2 separate regions of the Homo sapiens genome follow, and region 2 is linked to region 1. Evidence: promoter capture Hi-C in human tissues and cell types (Jung and others, 2019). All regions are on one chromosome and are shown on one strand. Each heading gives the region's core, a stretch centred on a gene start or on the middle of the fragment in contact. The rest is flanking DNA. Distances are from core to core; before and after follow the strand shown.

Region 1 (4,383 bases), core at 725-3,224:
TAAATATAGTATTGTGGTCATCTCAATGACAAGTTGGCCCTTATACTCTTAGACAACTTCCTATTATAACTTTGATTTGACGGAAAAAACAGATTGACTTGATCAGTTCAATGCACTTTCAAGTTTGAGATTTACCTGTACCAGACACACATTGGAGTTGTTCTCTGCTAATTGTAGACACACACAACTTGTGTGTTTCCCCCATTTCCCCCCCTCTTCCTCTTCTTCATTTCTATACTCTGTTTCTACTCTATGAGTCTTTACGGCCAAGATGGTGTTAGGACAGGCAGGATAGGGAAGTCACACAGAAAGATACAGATTGGGTTACGAAAGACAGCTTTTTATCCCTTTCTGTTATTTCCCCCCCACGGTGGCTCTTTTGAAGGCTGGGATGACTTCAGTCCACTATTTGCATGATCTTCCGCTTAAGAGTCCAGGGACAGATGATGTCCTTACATGGTATAATGTTCTGCTTGGCCCTTGTAGTTTCTACTTAGGGACTTCTCTTTCTTTCATCTGCAAATCAAAAGGTCCAACAACACCATCAAAGAATATTAGAAACAAAATAGACCAATGGCTTCATTTAGTAAAGTAGGAACATAGCAAACGTTTTTATTTTTTATTTTTTGCGACAGATTTTCACTCTTTTTGCCCAGGCTGGAGTGCAGTGGTGAGATCCCGGCTCACTGCAACCTCCATCTCTCTGGTTCAAGCGATTCTCCTGCCTCAGCCTCCCAAGTAGCTGGGATTACAGGCATGTGCCACCGTGCCCGGCAAATTTTTTTTTTTTTTTTGTACTTTTAGTAGAGACGGGGTTTCTCCATGTTGGTCAGGCTGGTCTTGAACTCCCGACGTCAGGTGATCCACCCGCCTCGACCTCCCAAAGTGCTGGGATTACAGGCGTGAGCCACCCCGCCTGGCCCATAGCAAAGCTTTATTCACTTAACGAGTCATGGCCAACAGCGTCTGGTTAGCTCACAGAGGCCACAGTTTTATCTGTGGAGTCTGGTAACCACGCCACTCACGACCCTGTACATTGATTAGATGCAGCAGGTCATCTCAAACACACAGCTCTCTCCAACACCCCTTAGAATACAACACTTGGGTGGTGATTTTACTTAACATTCTGGTACTTCATCCCAAAAAGACATCGGTAGAGATTAGTGTAACTCAACAACAGGCAGAAAACATACAAGAAAGTTTAAGACGGATGTCTAGCAGTGCCTGAACTGTTAAGAAGCAAACGTGAGTAAATGCCTTAGTTTCAATAGAAAAAGAAAGTTCACAGTGGGACCTCAGAAGCAGAGGCTGTGAGATCACCTTTCAAGAATTGGAGGAGAATTGCAGTAAGTGATAGAGCCGGACGCTGAGCTGCAGCAGCCTCTGGGAATTGGCGGGGCTGTGGCTTGTCCTGTCCTGCCGCCCCCCGCGTGGCCTCGGAAACTGTCAGATGGTGCCTAAGGCAGAGTTGGGCAAAGAAAGAACCAGCGTTCGTTTCCTCCTGGACTCTCTAGGTCCATGGAGCTGGTGGGGGAACGGCCCTGTCTTGCCCGAGGAGGAAATTCGAGTCGAGCCCCCACTCCTCTCCCCGCGGGACTGATAAACATGTCCCTCATTCGCCCCGGGAGGCTGGCACCCAGGCACGACGCGAGGACGGCCAGACTCGCCGACGGCGGCCGCGTCCCGGGGGGCCGGGAGCGAGCCTGTCGGAAGGTGGGAGGCGGAGTCGCTCGGCATCTGGGAAGAGACCAAAGGAATGAGTCATTGGAAATGCTGTAACGTAGACCCTTATCCCAAACCCTTTCGCCCCTCCACCCCGAGCCCCCTGCCGAGAAGCGAAGGGACTGGAGACGGGGAGACTTGGTGGGGGGAGAGTCACGTTTCGGAGAGGGAAGTGAAATAAAGAGGGCGGCACCCGGGGGGACCTGTGCGTCATTGAGGGACCGGGGAGAAGCGCAGGGCGCACGGGGCTGCAGAAGGAGAAGTAGGAACGAGAAGCCGGAGGGGGCGGCCGCGGAGCACTGGTTGGAGCGCCGCGAAGCGCCCGAGCCTCTTGCCTTCGCGGGCGGCGCCCTGGCCGCCGGCAGCCTTGTGGCCGGTGCCCCGATCCGCCGCGCTCCGGACCCGGGCAGGCGGGGCGCGCCCGCTGCGCGCGGGATGTGGCAGCCCAGACGGCCCTGGCCCCGCGTGCCCTGGCGCTGGGCGCTGGCGCTGCTGGCCCTGGTTGGCGCGGGGCTGTGCCACGCCGGCCCGCAGCCCGGGTATCCCGCGCGGCCCAGCGCCAGGAACAAGTAAGTGCGCGCCCCTTGGCTGGCCCCAAACCGCCTACCCCTCCCCGGCCCCCAGTTGAGCCCCAGAGCTGCCCTGCCAAAGACGACGAGCGGCAGCCGGGGGCCTCCCTTGGACTTCCCCGGGCGGCTCCCTCTGCGGGGGACCGCGCGCTCCGCAGCCGGCGCCTCAGGCAGAGCTGACTCCGGGGGCGTGGGCGCAGAGAGCGTCCCGCAGACCCGGGCGATCCGAAAACGACTCCCAGGAATTCCATGAGCCCCTGGGACCATGGGTGCTTTTCTTTCCCGTCTTGGTCGGGTCCAGGCGCGCGCTCTCCAGAGGCGCACCCGGGCACCCTCCGGCGTCTGCTCGGTGAAGCTCCCGCCTCCGCAGAGGGCGACGGGCCCCCCCGACCCTCGCTCGGTCTGGTGCCGCAGTCCCCTCTCCCCTGGCCTCATTGTTCTCCGGGTTTACCCCGTGCCCCTCTCCCTCTCTCTCCTGCACCCCAGGAACTGGTGCGCCTACATCGTGAACAAGAATGTGAGCTGCTCCGTGCTGGAGGGAAGTGAGAGTTTTATTCAGGCTCAGTACAACTGTGCCTGGAACCAGATGCCCTGTCCGTCGGCGCTGGTGTAAGTCCTGGAGCCGGGGAGCGGGCGGGGCGCGCCCGGGCCGGGGCGGTGGGGGTGGGGTGGGGTTGCTGCGCTGGGCTCCAGTCCCTCCGGTAAATCCCTTCCAGATCCGGTGAAAAGCCCGCAGCGGAAAAGCGCTCCGAGCGCTCGCGGGGCACCGGCCACGCTGGGCTATTTAGGGAGTGGGTGCTGCCCGAGTGAGTGGGGAGGATGCGCGCGCCTCGGGAGTGTGGGGTCGCGGGGGCGTAGGAGAGGATGAACAAAGCTCCCACTCCCACTTCTGTTTTCTCCCTTTCAATGTTTGTTTGTAACATAAGGCAGCTGAATCTAATTGGATCCATATTGTGTGTTCTGGGGCACACAGAAGATTCCAAAATGTATACTGCTAAAGACTATTCCGTATAGGATTCGCTGAGAGGTTTGGCTAAGTAGTGTTCTAAAACGAGTGAGTTCTGTCCGTATGTCCCCATAAAACGGAATCTTCCAGTTTTGTAGATGTCTAAGCTAAAACCTCAGGAACACTTTGCTTAAAAGTGTGGCTCCCCAGCATCCCTCCCCGCAACTTAGATTTGGAGATTCTCTAGAGATTGTGGGAGAGAATGGCCGTTAAAGACAGGGGGAAGAATTAATCATCTTTTTGCTTATAAAGATTTCCCCATCTTAAAAAAAAAAAAAAACAGGAAGCAATGCAATAAAGTACAAATGCCGTTAAATACATGACACTCATTCAATTGTCATCAGGCAAGTCTTTGGGGGTTTTGTATCAGTCTGATACCGGAAGATGGGCCAGTGTGAATAAATGGCTGTTGAGGAACACATGTGATGGCTGAAATTAATTGTTTTCCACTAAGAATAAGTTGTTTGTCTTAGAGCACAGTTGTCATTACAGCAGAGAATAGTCAGTAGGCGGATCTGTCTTTGGCAAAACCAAGGGACAGACTGGAACTTGTACTCCAGGAAACCTTATTCCAGAGAACAGTAGATGAGCCTGTAGTCTTATGGGAAGTGGTCGCTGGGTCCACCCCACGTGGGCTTCTGGAGGAGCTGCCAACAGGGTTCAGCTAATTCCTGCTCGGCAAAAACAAAGTAAAACAAACAGAAACTTAGACGAGGTCCCCATTTCCTAATATACAGTGGAAAACGCTGAAATTGAATGCCCAGCTAGGCTATCTCTTTGAGTTGGATACATTGTCAGAGAGATAAGGTACTGTCATCCAACCTTAATCTCTTAGTAAGATTGAGACCTCATCGTCTATGGCCAGCAGTCAACGACATCAGAACCAAGCAAGGTTTTTACACTGTGGGAGTGATACAAACTAAGTATTCAACTCAGTTTGAATGCATTTGTTTAAAATTAGAATTGAGTTATTAGTCAGGAATATTTTATTCATCTTATACAAGAACTGCATGGTGTGGCTTGCTATAACCTTAAAACTTACTGGTGACAATTCGGAGATAAATGAATTTTTCATTTTGGGAGGTA
Region 2 (4,383 bases), core at 934-3,433, 280 kb before region 1:
AAAGGGGGGCAGGGGCTGCATACAGTGGCTCTTGTCTGTATTCCCAGCACTTTGGGAGGCCAAGGCAGGAGGACTGCTTGAGCCCAGGAGTTCAAGACCAGCCTGGGCAACATAGTTAAGACCTTATCTCTACAAAAAAATAAAAAATTAGCTGAGCGTGGTGGCACATGCCTGTAGTCCCATCTACTCAGGAGGCTGAGGCAAGAGGATCACTTGAGCCCAAGAGTTCAAAGCCACGGTGAGCCATGACTGCACCACTGCACTCCAGCCTGGGCAACACGGTGAGACCCTGTCTCAAAAGAAAAAATGAAAGTTAAACATAAAAGCTAATCCAACAATTCCACTTCTGGGTATATACCTAAAAAAAGCAGGGACTCAAAACAGATACTTGTACACCAATGTTCACAGAAACATTATTCATAATAGCCAAAATGTGGAAACAACCCAAATGACCATGAACAAATAAATGAATAAACAAAATGTAGTATATACAAACAATGAAATATTATTCGCCCTTAAAAAGGAAATTCTGATAAATGCTACAACATGGATGAACCTTGAAGACATTATGCTAAATGAAATTAGCCAGATACAAAAAGATGAACATTGTATGATTCCACTTATATGAAATATCTACCATAGGCAAATTCACAGAGACAGTGAGTAGAATAAAGGATACCAGCAGCTGGGGGACGGGGGGATGGGGAGTTATTAAATAATGGTAGAGTTCCAGTTTGGGATGATGAAAAAGTACTAGAGATGAACAGCAGTGGTGTGGTACAACATTGTGAATGTATTTAATGCCGCAGAATTTTACACTTAAAAATGGTTAAAAATGGAAAATTTTATGTATATTCTACTACAACAAGAAAGAAAGGGAAAAAAAACCCAGGGTTCTACCATCACATTAATTCAACAAGACCGAATTCCAGACTGAATTTTGCCATTTCAAAGGTGCTCCATGGAAAAAAAAATTAAGCTTAAAATATTTGTGTTCATTCTGTTTCTTCTCATTTCTTTAACTCTCTGATCTCATTTATCGCTATGTTCTAGAAACATATCCTTCACATTACTCATGCTCTCTTCTGCCACTCTCTTAATATATTGTTTTATCTAGACAATAGGATTTTATAATCTCTAAAATCTCTAAACTTAACCAATATAGCATAAGTTTACTTTGTTAAATATTTAAACTAATAGAAGTACATGAAGTTTCAATAAAAACTGGTTTAGGCTGGATGCAGTCGCTCACTCCTGTAAAATCCTAGCACTTTGGGAGGCTGAGGCTGGCGGATGGCCAGAGCTCAGTAGTTTGAGACCAGCCTGGCCAACATGGTGAAACACCATCTCTACTAAAAATACAAAAAATTAGCAGGGCATGGTGGCACACGCCTATAATCCCAGCTACTCAGAGGAGGCCAAGGCATGAGATTGCTTGAACCCAGGAGGCAGAGGCTACAGTGAGCTGAGATCACACCACTACCACTCCACTCCAGCCTGGGCAACAGAATGAGACTCTGCCTCAAAAAAAAAAAAAAAAAAAAGACAAAACTGGTTTAAACTGTGCATTACTATAAAATTAACAATAAATATATTAAGTGCTAAGCCTGATCAAAATGATTGCTTGATTTTGAAAAAAAATCCTTATTTATGTTGTCCATTTATTTTCTACTACTTCACATTAATCTTCCAATGTGATCAATGAACATTTTACACTTACCTTTGTATGGTATTCCATAGCATCCAATTCACCTTGATTGAAAACAACACATCTTTTACGCTTCTAAAGGGTAGATCAATTACAGGGGAAAAGTTATGTTGCCATTAATATTTTGCTTTTTCATTATAACATTATTTATGTCTTATATCTGTCTAATAATAATTAATAATTAATAGTAGTAATTGTCTACTGAGGTCAAAATCAATGCAAAGGGTATGGAGTGAGGAGGTAAGCTTTCCCAAAGTAAATTAAAAACAACAACATAAACAAAATGGATTGTAAAAGGTCACCTCAGCTTTATCTGCTATTAATAAGAACTAGTTCTGGCCGGGCACGGTGGCTCACGCCTGTAATCCCAGCACTTTGGGAGGCCAAGGCGGGAGGATCACGAGGTCAGAAGATCGAGACCATCCCGGCTAACATGGTGAAACCCCATCTCTACTAAAAATACAAAAAAAAAAAAAATTAGCCAGGCATGGTGGCAGGCGCCTGTAGTCCCAGCTACTTGGGAGGCTGAGGCAGGAGAATGGTGTGCGAGACTCTGTCTCAAAAAAAAGAACTAGTTCCACATGATAAAGTGTAGCATCAGCACCCATGAAATACAAGGAAACTATGACACCGTATGAAGTTACCAGTGCCATCTATCACTTTATATATGGTATAGTTATTCTCAATTTCCTTTATTTCTGAGAAGAGAAACTAGCCAGGTGCTATCATCAAAAGAAATTCCAATGTGCTTATGACTGATGAGGGTTAGGTATGAATCAGATTTATATTGACACTGTTCTATATCTAACAATATAGAGTAAGGACTTAGTACTTTTTATGGCTGAAACTCCAGTGCTTACCTTGTGTCAAACTCTTAGCATGCTAACAATAAATGTCTGTTGGCTAAATAAATAAATGGACTTAATATTGTATAATTTGCTTTAGCATATCAGAAGGTGTCATCAAGATTACATTTATTACATAGGTTCATCTATTTTTTTCCATGTTATAAGAAATTTACCCAACCTGAGAGATTAAACATTAAAAATTAATGCCCATACCCTGTAAACTATAAAGTCCTTTACAAAGGCTTGTTATTATCTGAATTACTTATATTACAACATACTATTTTACTAAGACCTCGGACAATGCTAAATATTTTCTTTTCTGTGTGTGACACGTAGTAAATGATCAATAAATATTTGATGAAAGGAAAAAGGGGACTGGGCATGGTGGCTCACACCTGTAATCTCAGCACTTTGGGAGGCCGAGGCAGGTGGATCACCTGAGATCAGGAGTTCAAGACCAGCTTGGCCAACAAGGTGTCTACTAAAAATACAAAAAATTGGCCGGGTATGGTGGTGGACACACATAATCCCAGCTACTCGGGAGGCTGAGACAGGAGAATTGCTTGAACCTGAGAGGCAGAGGTTTCAGTGAACCGAGATCACGCCACTGCGCTCCAGCCTGGGAAACAGAGCAAGACTCCGTCTCAAAAAAAAAAAGGGGGATCAACACATGAACACACAGAGGGGAGCAACAGATACTGGGGCCTACTGGAAGATGGAGGTCAGAGGATGGGAGGAGGGAAAGGATCAGGACAAATAACTAATGGGTACTAGGCTTAATACCTGGGTGATGAAATAATTTGTACAACAAAACCCCATGACACAAATGTATCTATATAACAAACCTATACATGTACCTGTGAACTTAAAAATTAAAATTAAAATTAAAAAAAAGAAGAATATGCACAAGAAAAAAGTCACAATATTAAAAAGTTCCATTTCAGAAAATGTATTTTCTTTATTACTTTCCTTATTCTAATTCTCAACAAACTTTCGTATTTAATATCTTTCTTCTTCACCGAATTATAAGATCCATCAGGGAGGGATTATGTTTATCTTGTTTCATCACTCTGCATACAATGGCACATAGAAAGAGCTCAAACGTTTGTTCGGTGAGTAATGAATGTTAATCCTATCACTAAAAAAGAAAATGTTGAGGCCGGGTGCAGTGGCTCAAGCCGAGGTGGGCAGATCACGAGGTCAGGAGATCAAGATCACCCTGGCTTAACACAGTGAAGCCCCGTCTCTACTAAAAATACAAAAAATTAGCCAGGCGTGGTGGCAAGCGCCTGTAGTCCCAGCTGCTCGGGAGGCTGAGGCAGGAGAATGGCGTGAACCCGGGAGGCGGAGCTTGCAGTGAGCTGAGATAGCACCACTGCACTCCAGCTTGGGTGACAGAGCAAGACTCTGTCTCAAATAAATAAATAAATAAATAAATAAATAAATAAATAAATAAATAAAATAAACAAATAAATAAAAATAAGTAAAAAAGACAATGCTGATATCAGATATCTAAAATGGACTTTGTAAAATCACCTCTAAATTCCTGAAAGAGATAAAAAGTATTAAAGCATAATTAATTTGATCCTGTATGGCATTCCCAAAACTCTACTAAAAGATTGCACCAGTGTGAATATACAAATACATATACTTTACAAACGGGTATATTTACCACAGGAGCTTTCTACTTGTATCACTAGAAACTTTTAAAACAATCACCCTTCTTACAAACTTTTATTACGTATCTCCAAGGGATAGCTCTCTAAAAACCTCCGAAATACCACTTACTGCTTAGAAATTTTGTAGAAAAACTTTTTTTTTAAAGCA

What was found. Contacts are between HindIII fragments. The study calls those that stand out against the background at their distance.
Region 2: a fragment that was not itself captured here is called in contact with the fragment with the promoter of EMILIN2 in region 1 in 3 of the 25 tissues and cell types used here (H1 embryonic stem cells, lymphoblastoid cells and spleen).

What each region holds. Positions count from the first base shown.
Region 1 is chr18:2,845,032-2,849,414 of GRCh38, forward strand. It overlaps EMILIN2 (elastin microfibril interfacer 2), which reads left to right and starts at 1,975. Exons shown (of 8, transcript NM_032048.3): 1 at 1,975-2,291; 2 at 2,778-2,900. The coding sequence starts at 2,158. RefSeq lists silencers at 2,193-2,242, 2,863-2,952. The HindIII fragment of the contact is 15,158 bases long and covers 1-4,383 here.
Region 2 is chr18:2,562,077-2,566,459 of GRCh38, forward strand. METTL4 (methyltransferase 4, N6-adenosine) reads right to left here. Exons shown (of 9, transcript NM_022840.5): 3 at 1,721-1,783. Among named protein-coding and RNA genes, the nearest start is that of METTL4, 7.2 kb to the right of the region's middle. The HindIII fragment of the contact is 6,769 bases long and covers 1-4,383 here.